2 separate regions of the Homo sapiens genome follow, and region 1 is linked to region 2. Evidence: promoter capture Hi-C in 16 types of primary human blood cells and fetal thymus (Javierre and others, 2016). All regions are on one chromosome and are shown on one strand. Each heading gives the region's core, a stretch centred on a gene start or on the middle of the fragment in contact. The rest is flanking DNA. Distances are from core to core; before and after follow the strand shown. Region 1 overlaps CCDC63 (coiled-coil domain containing 63). Region 2 holds the start of FAM216A (family with sequence similarity 216 member A).

What was found. The method cuts DNA at HindIII sites, captures the fragments that hold promoters and counts their contacts. A CHiCAGO score of 5 or more calls a contact.
Region 1: a contact is called between a fragment that was not itself captured here and the fragment with the promoter of FAM216A in region 2, in 2 of 17 cell types (naive B cells and total B cells). The highest score is 5.6, in naive B cells.

Annotation. Positions count from the first base shown.
Region 1 is chr12:110,881,495-110,886,021 of GRCh38, reverse strand. CCDC63 (coiled-coil domain containing 63) reads right to left here. Exons shown (of 12, transcript NM_152591.3): 8 at 1,772-1,992. Among named protein-coding and RNA genes, the nearest start is that of CCDC63, 37 kb to the right of the region's middle. The HindIII fragment of the contact is 1,393 bases long and covers 2,481-3,873 here.
Region 2 is chr12:110,465,430-110,470,210 of GRCh38, reverse strand. It overlaps FAM216A (family with sequence similarity 216 member A), which reads right to left and starts at 1,366. Exons shown (of 7, transcript NM_013300.3): 1 at 1,193-1,366. The coding sequence starts at 1,335. GPN3 (GPN-loop GTPase 3) reads left to right here and starts at 1,954. Exons shown (of 8, transcript NM_016301.4): 1 at 1,954-2,055. The coding sequence starts at 2,008. RefSeq lists enhancers at 623-792, 1,713-1,842 and a silencer at 993-1,302. The HindIII fragment of the contact is 771 bases long and covers 980-1,750 here.

The sequences.
Region 1 (4,527 bases), core at 1,928-4,427, 410 kb before region 2:
GACTGTTATTATCTATAATAGTTTTCTGTAAACCAAGCCATTATGTTTATTATTCTTTGTTTACTGTTATTATTACTTACTACCCTAAGTAAATATCCATTAAATCACAAGTTTGCTCTGCAAGCTCTATTATTCCTTTAAAAATTAATTCATCACTAGTAAATGAAAATGTTTTCACCTATATTCTAGCTGCAATCTGTTTGCACATGGCCAGCGTGCATGCCCCACATTTGGGAAACAGTGACATATTGCAAAGGAAAGCAGCTCCCCTCATCATGTAAGCAGAGGACAGGGCCTGCAGAAGAAGGACTAATGAATTCCCAGAGGAGGCGACATTTGTGCAGGGTCAGGACTAATGAGCAGGATTTCATCAGAAGAGAAAAGGAGGGGAGGGAGAGGGAATAGCACGGGAAGGCAGTGGCGGAGGGAAATGCATGGGACAGCTGGGGCTGGCAGCAGCAGAGGGTGTCTTGGAGGTCATAACAGGACCTGTGTCTGCAAAGGCAGGTAGAAGCCAAATTTTGAAGGGGCTGGAATGTCACACTAAAGGGTTTAGACTCTATTCCATGCAGACAGTTCCAAAGGATGTTTATTTATGTACTGGTGTGTAAATAGCCCAGGAAGCCAATGACATTTGGGAAATTATGGGTTCAACAAAGGTAGACAGGCTTCTTTACTGCAGGACTTGTCAGGGCCTGTGCATCAAGTCTCGCCAAGATGAGAATGAGTTCTCACTCCTCGAAACTGTTGATTAACAAGGGTCAGGTAAGGGGCCAAATAAGAAATACTTTCAGCTTTGCAGGTCCCTCTTGCATATTTCTCTCTCTCTCTTTTTTTTTTTTCTTCTTACAATCCTTTAAAAATGTAAAAATCATTCTTAGCTCATGGGCTACACAGAAATAGCCATGGACTGTAGTTTACTGAATGCTGGTTAATAAAACATGCCATGGATTATAAAGTCACTATTGGGTTGGGGGACATGAATACATGAAATGTATCTATACATTGAAAGACAATTACAGGCCAGGTGTGGTGGCTCACATCTATATAATCCCAGCACTTTGGGAGGCTGAGGCAGGTGGATCACTTGAGGCCAGGAGTTTGAGACAAGCCTGGCCAACATGATGAAACCCCATCTCTACTAAAAATACAAAAAAAAAAAAAAAAAATAGCAGGGCGTCGTGGCGGGCACCTGTAGTCCCAGCTACTCCAGAGGCTGAGGCAGGAGAATCTCTTGAACCGGGGAGGTGGAGGTTGCAGTGAACCAAGATCATGCCACTGCACTCCAGCCTGGATGACAGAGCAAGACTCCGTCTCAAAAAAAATACAAATAAAAAGTAAGGGGACACTGGGTGCAACGTTTCACACTTGTAATCTCAGTACTTTGGGAGTCCAAGGTGGGAGGATTGCTTGAGGTCAGGAGTTCGAGACCAGCCTTGCATGGCAAAATCCCAACTCTACAAAAAATACAAAAATTAGCCAGGCATGGTGGTGCACACCTGTAGTCCAAGCTACTCAGGAGGCTGAGATGCAAGGATCATTTCAGCCTGGGAGGTTGAGACTGCAGTGAGCCAATATCGCACTACTACTGCACTCCAGCCTGGGTGACAGAGTAAGATCCTGTCTCAAACATAAAATGTAAGGGGAATAGAGCGGTGTTGGCCAAACTGCTTTCTGTAGTGCCTCTCACAGAGCCTTCCTAGGAGACTGCCCTGGAAAGGCTGCTGTGGACACAGGGGCCCAGGGCCTGGGAAAGCAGAGCCGCCCTGACCTGGATTCGTTGGGTCCTCTTGTGCATCATCTCCATGTCGTTGTTGAGCTCCGTGACATACGTGAACCGAGCAAAATTCTTCTCCTCCTTGGCCAGAAAATCTTCAATGAGCTGGTTTAGGTTCCCACTCTCAGCCAGCTTCAGCAGCCGGAGGTGGGCCACCTCATAGCTCTCAAAACTCTCTCCCCTGTTCTTCTTGACATGCTTCTTTGCCTTGAGAGCTAGGAAAGGAAAAATCAGCCACTGTGACACTCAAAAGGAAGCTCCTCAGATCCGTGCCAGGCAGACAGTAACGTGATCAATATTATTGTGGCCAGGCATGGTGACTCACGCCTGTAATCCCAACACTTTGGGAAGCCGAGGCAGGCAGATCACCTGAGGTCAGGAGTTCGAGACCAGCCTAGCCAACATGGCGAAACCCCGTCTCTACTAAAAATGCAAAAATTAGCCAGGTGTGGTGGCACATGCCTGCAATCCCAGCTACATGGGAGGCTAAGCCAGGAGAATTGCTTGAACCTGGGAGGCAGAGGTTGCAGTGAGCCAAGTTTGCGCCACTGCACTCCAGCCTGGGCGATGGAGCAAGACTCCATCTCAAAAAACAAACAAACAAACAAGCAAACAAAAAACAAACAAACAAACAAAAAAATATATATATAGTAGTATGCTTTAGGGATGAGGCTAGATGTTTCCAGGAGATAGAGCAGAAGCTTCACCCATCATTCATTTCACAAATATCTCAAGAAGCATTTACTATGAGTCACACACTGTGCTAGGCACTGCTGATACAAAATCCCTGCCCTGGCCGGGCATGGTAGCTCACACCTGTAATCCCAGCACAGGGGTTGAGCCCTGGAGTTCAAGACCAGCATGGACAACATAGCAAGACCCCACCTCTACAAAAAATTTTTAAAATTAGGCCGGGTGCAGTGGCTCCCGCCTGTAATCCCAGCACTTTGGGAGGCCAAGGCAGGTGGATCACGAGGTCAAGAGACTGAGACCATCCTGGCCAACATGGTGAAACCCCGTCTCTTCTAAAAATACAAAAATTAGCTGGGTGTGGTGGCATGTGCCTGTAGTCCCAGCTACTCAGGAGGCTGAGGCAGGAGAATCACTTGAACCCAGGAGGTGGAGGTTGCAGTGAGCCGAGATTGCGCCACTGCACTCCAGCCTGGGTGACAGAGCAAGACTCCGTCTTAAAAAAAAAAAAAAAAAAATTTAAAATTAGCCAAGTGTCGTGTTGAATGCCTGTGGTCCTAGCTACTCGGGAGGGCAAAGTGGGAGGATGGCTTGGGCCTAAGAGGTCAAGGCTGAAGTGAGCTGTGACTGTCACACCACTGCACTCCAGCCTGGGAGAAAGAACTAGACCCTGTTTCTTAAAAATAAATAAATAAATAAATAAAAGGATCGTTTAGGCACACCTGACCATGTGACCTTTTTACAGGTTGTGGCTCCCCACTGTTCTGGGGAGGCTCAGGCGATCCTCCCACCTCAGACTCCCCAGTAGCTGAGACCACAGGCAAGTGCCACCATGCCCAGCAGTTTATCCCAAACACCTGCTTTTCCTCTGAGTGTCTAGAATTTTGGTATGTGCTAGGCAGAGGGTGTCTACACGACCAGCCCCCAGTAAGAATTTGGGGTACTGAATCTCTAGTATACCCCACTATGAGATAACCTTTTTTTTTTTAAGAGACAGGGTCTCACTCTGTCACCCAGGCTGGAGTGGCGCAATCATAGCTTGCTGCAGCCTCAAACTCCTGGACTTAGGATCTGCTTTTTTCTACCCCTCAGCACCTTGTCACCATCAGACCTTCTGAGATCAAGCCATCCTCCCATCTCAGTCTCCAGAGTAGCTGGGACCACAGGCATGTACCACTATGCCCAACTAATTTTTTTTTATTCATTGTAGAGATGGGGTCTTGCTCATTTGCCCAGGCCAGTCTCAAACTCCTGGCCTCAAGTGATCCTCCCGCCTTGGCCTCCCAAAGCACTGAGATTACAGGCATGAGCCACCATGCCCAGCCTAGTAGATAACTCTTGACATGATGTGTGGTCACAGATCCTGAAAGAACCATGTGTGCTCAGTGTGACTGTACTTGGAAGCTTGCGCCCAGTTTCCTCCAGACGCCGGACCACACACCTTCTCCCTGTGCTGATCTTGCTTGGTGCCTTTTCACTGTAATGCATCACAGCCATGAATGTGCCTCAGTGCTGAGTCCTGCGAGATATGCTAGTGAATCATCAAACCTAGAGATGAACCTGGGGACCCCTGACAATAAGTCTCCTTCTAAATAATAGAAAGAGAGTCCCAGATGAAGACACATGCTGTAAATTAGGGTTGGCAGATAAAATAGAGGGTTCTCAGTTAAATTTGAATTTCAGACAAATATATTTTTAAGTATAAATATGTCCCAATTATAGATAAACAAAAAAGTTTTATCATAAGTATGTCCCAAATGCTGCATGAGACATAGTTATCCTAAACATTTATTTATTGTTTATTTGATATTTAAATTTAACTAGGCATTTTTTTTTTGAGAGTCTTATTCTGTTGCCCAGGCTGGAGTGCAGTGGCATGATCTTGGCTCATTGCAACCTCTGCCTCCTGGGTTCAAGTGATTCTCCTGCCTCAGCTTCCCAAGTAGCTGGGATTACAGGCACTCACCACTATGTCCAGCTAATTTTTTTGTATTTTTAGTAGAGACGGGGTTTCACCATGTTGGTCAGGCTGTTCTCAAATTCCTGACCTCAAATGATCA
Region 2 (4,781 bases), core at 117-2,616:
AGGAGAATGGCGTGAACCCGGGAGGCGGAGCTTGCAGTGAGCTGAGATGGCACCACTGCACTCCAGCCTGGGCAACAGAACGAGACTCTGTCTCAAAAAAAAAAAAACAAAAAGGATGGCCATGGGTGCAACAGGGGCCCTGACTGCGGGTTGTACTGAACGGCAAACATATCGCAGTTCTTGCTTTTAGGGAATAAAGTAGGGAGAGGAAGAGGAGGTAGAGTCTCCAGCAGTGACTTCAACAGCTCGCTGTCTTCACTATCTAGGAAATAGGTGTAAAAACCTGCTCAAAACGAAATAGATTTGTGAAAAAAGGAACTTCAGTGTGAAGAAAATGTCAAGATCAAGGCACCTCGGATATTCAGTCATTGGTCTCATTGGCGATTAGAAATCCTCGTTTGAGGTCGGGCGCAATGGTTCACCCCGTAATCCCAGCAATTTGGGAGGCCGAGGCGGGCGGCTCACTTGAGGTCAGGGGTTCGACACAAGCCTAGCCAACATGGTGAAACCACCTCTCTACTAAAAATACAAAAATTAGCCGGGCGTGGTGGCAGGCGCCTGTAATCCCAGCTACTCGGGAGGCTGAGGCAGGAGAATCACTTGAACCTGGGAGGCTGAGGTTGCAGTGAGCTGAGATCGCACCACCGCATTCCAGCCTAGGCAACAGAGCGAGACTGTCTCGCTCTCAAAAAACAAGAAAGAAAAGAAAAAAAAAGAAAAAGAAATCCCCGTTTGACAGGAAGGTGGCTCATGTCACTAGAGGGAAGGAACTGGTTTATGGGCCTGGATGCCCCCAGTTGAACCGGGGGACATCTTCCTCCTCTGTCCCTCCCGCCTCGCCTTTCGGTGGACACACAGTCCTGTGCCAGACAGCAAACGTCCCAGCAGGGCTCGCAGCGCCCCCTCGGGGCAGAGAGATGCACGCGGGCGACTGTCGCAGTCACCTCGTGGCCACTGCACCAAACGCTCCTCCGAAGCTTCCCTCAGAGACCCTCCCTCAACCGCGAGGCAGTCCTCCCCTCTGCCCTCTGTCCACAACAAAACTGCTCCCCGCCTCTCACTTGAGGGCACCGGGGCCAGCCCCCGAGACGAGAGGTCGGCCGCAGCCCTCCTCCACGGGGCTCACGACCCGGGGGCCTCACGACCCGGGGGCCCCATGCTGCCACCCTTACCCCGGGGCCCCCAACCTCACCCGCCGCCGCCACCCTCGGTCCCGGCCACAGCGGGCGGCTCTGCAGAAGAGCTACGCTCCGTCCAGTCGGACCCCGGACCCTGGCCGGGCATCTCCGCGGCGCCGAGACCGCGAGCCGTGTGCGGGAGCAGCTGTCCCAGCATCCCTCCCCCGACAGCACGCGTGCGTCAGGCTGCTGGTATTCCGGAGAGGCGGCTCGGATGCTGGCTTCTCGCCCCTCCGAAGCCGTTCGGACACTGCCCGAACAGCTTCGGGAGAGCGGGGCGGGCAGATCCGCGACCCCGGAGTTACGGTGGGGGAGGGGCAGGAGCGCTGCGGTCGCTGAGCGTTTGCACGTTTGCACCTCTCTGTGGAAGCAGTGCGTCACAGGAGGGAAATATACATGCTCCCCAAAACAAGAGGTGCCTTCCACTTCAGTATTCCAGATCCTCAGCACATTTGCAAATCGCGAGGGTCACCATACAGGTCAAACGTCTGCACGCAAACCACGGACCGAAGCACGTGGCGCAAGGATGCGGAGCTTTATCTGTTGTCCGTTATTACTCAGGTATCCAAGCTTAGACAGCATCCCAACGGCCGATTTCCATCAACTACTTTTGCGCACGCGCAAATCCTCTCCCTCGCCCCTCCCCTTTTTTCTCAGGACGCGTTTCTCACGGGATTTGGCCCGCGGGCTGCCCCGTAGTAGGAGGTGTGGTAGAACTGGAGGCGTAGAAAGAATGTGGATTGCGATTGGTTCGCACTTCACTTTCCCGGAGCTCAGTGGGCGTCGCGCGAAGGCTAAGGGAGTGTGGCGGGCGGCTCCGGGAGCCAACATGCCTCGGTATGCGCAGCTGGTCATGGGCCCCGCGGGCAGCGGGAAGGTGAGGATCTGCGGGGACAAGGAGAGAAAAGTAGGAGTTCGTGGAAGGCGGGAGATTGGGTCCTGAGGGAGTGAGCCGGCGGGTGTGTGTACTGGGAACCCTGAGACCCCACGCAACTCATTTCTGCTGTCTGGCTTCACGTTCTTTTTTGTTGTTGTTTTGAAAGGGAAATAATGGTAGTTGTTAATATTTATTGTATACTTAAGCCCCAGGCAGCAGATGAAACGCCTCGCTTATTTCTACAACAACCCTGTGAGAGAGATCTCATTTTTCTCATTTTACAGAAAACGAGATACAGAAAGGTTAATTAAGTTCTTTGCCCCGCAAAAAAATATAAATCCAGTTTTGTCTCAACTCCAGAATCCGGCCCTGTCTCGCTCCCAGGAGGGTAAAGTGGGGTCTCATTAATTACTGTTTCTCAGAACTTGGGACATGGACTTTTGGTATTTAAGGTGCTTTTAGGTGGTAGGTGGTACATGGACCCCACATTAAGGAGCATCAGATAATGTGTTAGGGAAATTGTTCCCTTTTCATTTCTCTTTCAGTTCTCAACTTCGCATTTAGGAGAAGTTGTGCTCGGTGCTAGTGTGTATCTTCAGCACTTCTTTAATCCCCAGGTCTTTTCAGAGAGCAGTTCTTAGTCTCAGAGCTTTTAATAGGCACCTGTATTTAGCTAAAAATAGAACATTTAAAGATTTTATATAATTTTATGTCTAATTTCACGTTATGTCAAATATAAGTGGTTTTCAGTTTACAGTAGGGATAAAATTTTTTCTTGTAAACAAATATTAAGGGAATGTTAGGAACATTCAAATACAGTGAGAATGGTGAAGATATGGATCAAATAACATATGTGTGGGAAACATAGCCAGGCGTGGTGGCTCACGTCTGTAATCCTATCACTTTGGGAGATGGAGGTGGACGGATCGCCTGAGCCCAGGAGTTTGGGACCAGCCTTGGCAACACGGCGAAACTCTGTCTCTACAAAAAAATGCAAAAATTAGCCAGGCCTGGTGGCAGGTACCTCTAGTCCCAGCTTCTCGGGAAGCTGAAGTGGGAGGATTACCTGAACCCAGGAGGTTGAGGCTGTGGTGAGTGGTGATCGTGCCACTGCACTCCAGCCTGGGTGACAGAGGTACTGTCGCAAAAAAAAAAAAGAAGAAGTGTGGAAACACTAGAGTCTGTGGAGGTGTTGTGTGGCCTCAGTCTTTAACAAACACATTGTTCTAAGCTGTTGACTTATTCTGGGTAAAAACATGTACATGTAACTAAGATACCTATGGCCTTTAACTTACCCAGAGTCTGTAGTCTTTTGGGGAAGACAAATAGATGACCTGTCAATTAAGATACAGTGTGATGTGGCCAGGTGTGGTGGCTTAAGCCTGTAATCCTCGCACTTTGGGAGGCTGAGGCCAGCAGATCACTTGAGCCCAGGAGTTCAGGGTCAGCCTGGGCACCATGGTGAAGCCCTGTCTCTACCAAAAATACAAAAATTAGCTGGGCATGGTGGCGAGAGCCTATAGTCCCACCTACTCGGGGGGCTAAGGCTGGAGAATCGCTTGAGCCTGGGTCAAAGCTGCAGTGAGCTATGATGGTGCCACTGCACTCCAGCCTGGGTGACAGTGAGACCCTTTGCAAAAAAAAAAAAGATACAGTGTGTGATGTATGGAGAGGGCATTCCAGACAGAGACAACAGTATGTGTAAAGGCACTGAGAGGACAGCATGATGGATGTTTTTTCTATAGTCTATTTTAATTTTTGGGCTGATTGTATTAAACAAGTATCTTTATAAGCTTTTGATGCTTACTATCAGAAACATTCCTTGAGTACGTTCTTTATCCCAGGCACTGTTTTGGGCCCTGGGGGTTGTATGGGGAAAAAAACATGCACACACAAAATCCGTGCCCTTGTGGAGCTTATCTTTAAACATAATAAGTCAATTAGAAACAATTATCAAGTATTTATTATGTACTAGGTATTGCGCTAGTCCCTGTGCTTGGGAAACTGAATAAGACACATCTCTGCCTTTAAACAGAGTATGACACAGACAAGTAGCCTAGAGACTTTTTTTTTTTTTTGAGCCAGGAGTCTTGTTCTGTCATCCAGGCTAGAGTGCAGTGGTGTGATCTCAGCTCACTGCGACCTCTGCCTCCCGGGTTCAAGCGATTCTCCTGCCTCAGCCTCCTGAGTATCTGAGATTACAGGCATACGCCACCACGCCCAGCTAATTTTTGTATTTTTAGTAGAGACGAGGTTTCACCATGTCGGCCAGGCTGGTCTCCAACTCCTGACCTCAGGTGATCCGTCGACCTCAGCCTCCCAAAGTACTGGGATTACAGGTGTGAGCCACTGCACCCAGCCCGAGATGTTAACATAGTACGGTAACAACTACATAATGGATAAAGAATTATCTAAACCAAAAGTTACAAACTGATAGCCACCTCCAGACTATTTATTGATCTTGGCGTTCTTTCATCTTGGAATGCTCTTCCCCTTAGGTTGGCAAACTCCTTCTCATATACTCATATCTCCCCTACTCAGAGACATCATCCCTGACCATCCTACCTAAAGCTTTGTTTGCACTGTACAAGTCCTGGTAGAGACACTGTGTTAGGTGTTACACTATGTAACCAGAACTCTTCCCTTTAAATACCGCTTGTCACATTTAGAACAGTAAGGAGCCTTAGTGATTATGGAGGACATCCCAGTTAGAGACACGAAAATTG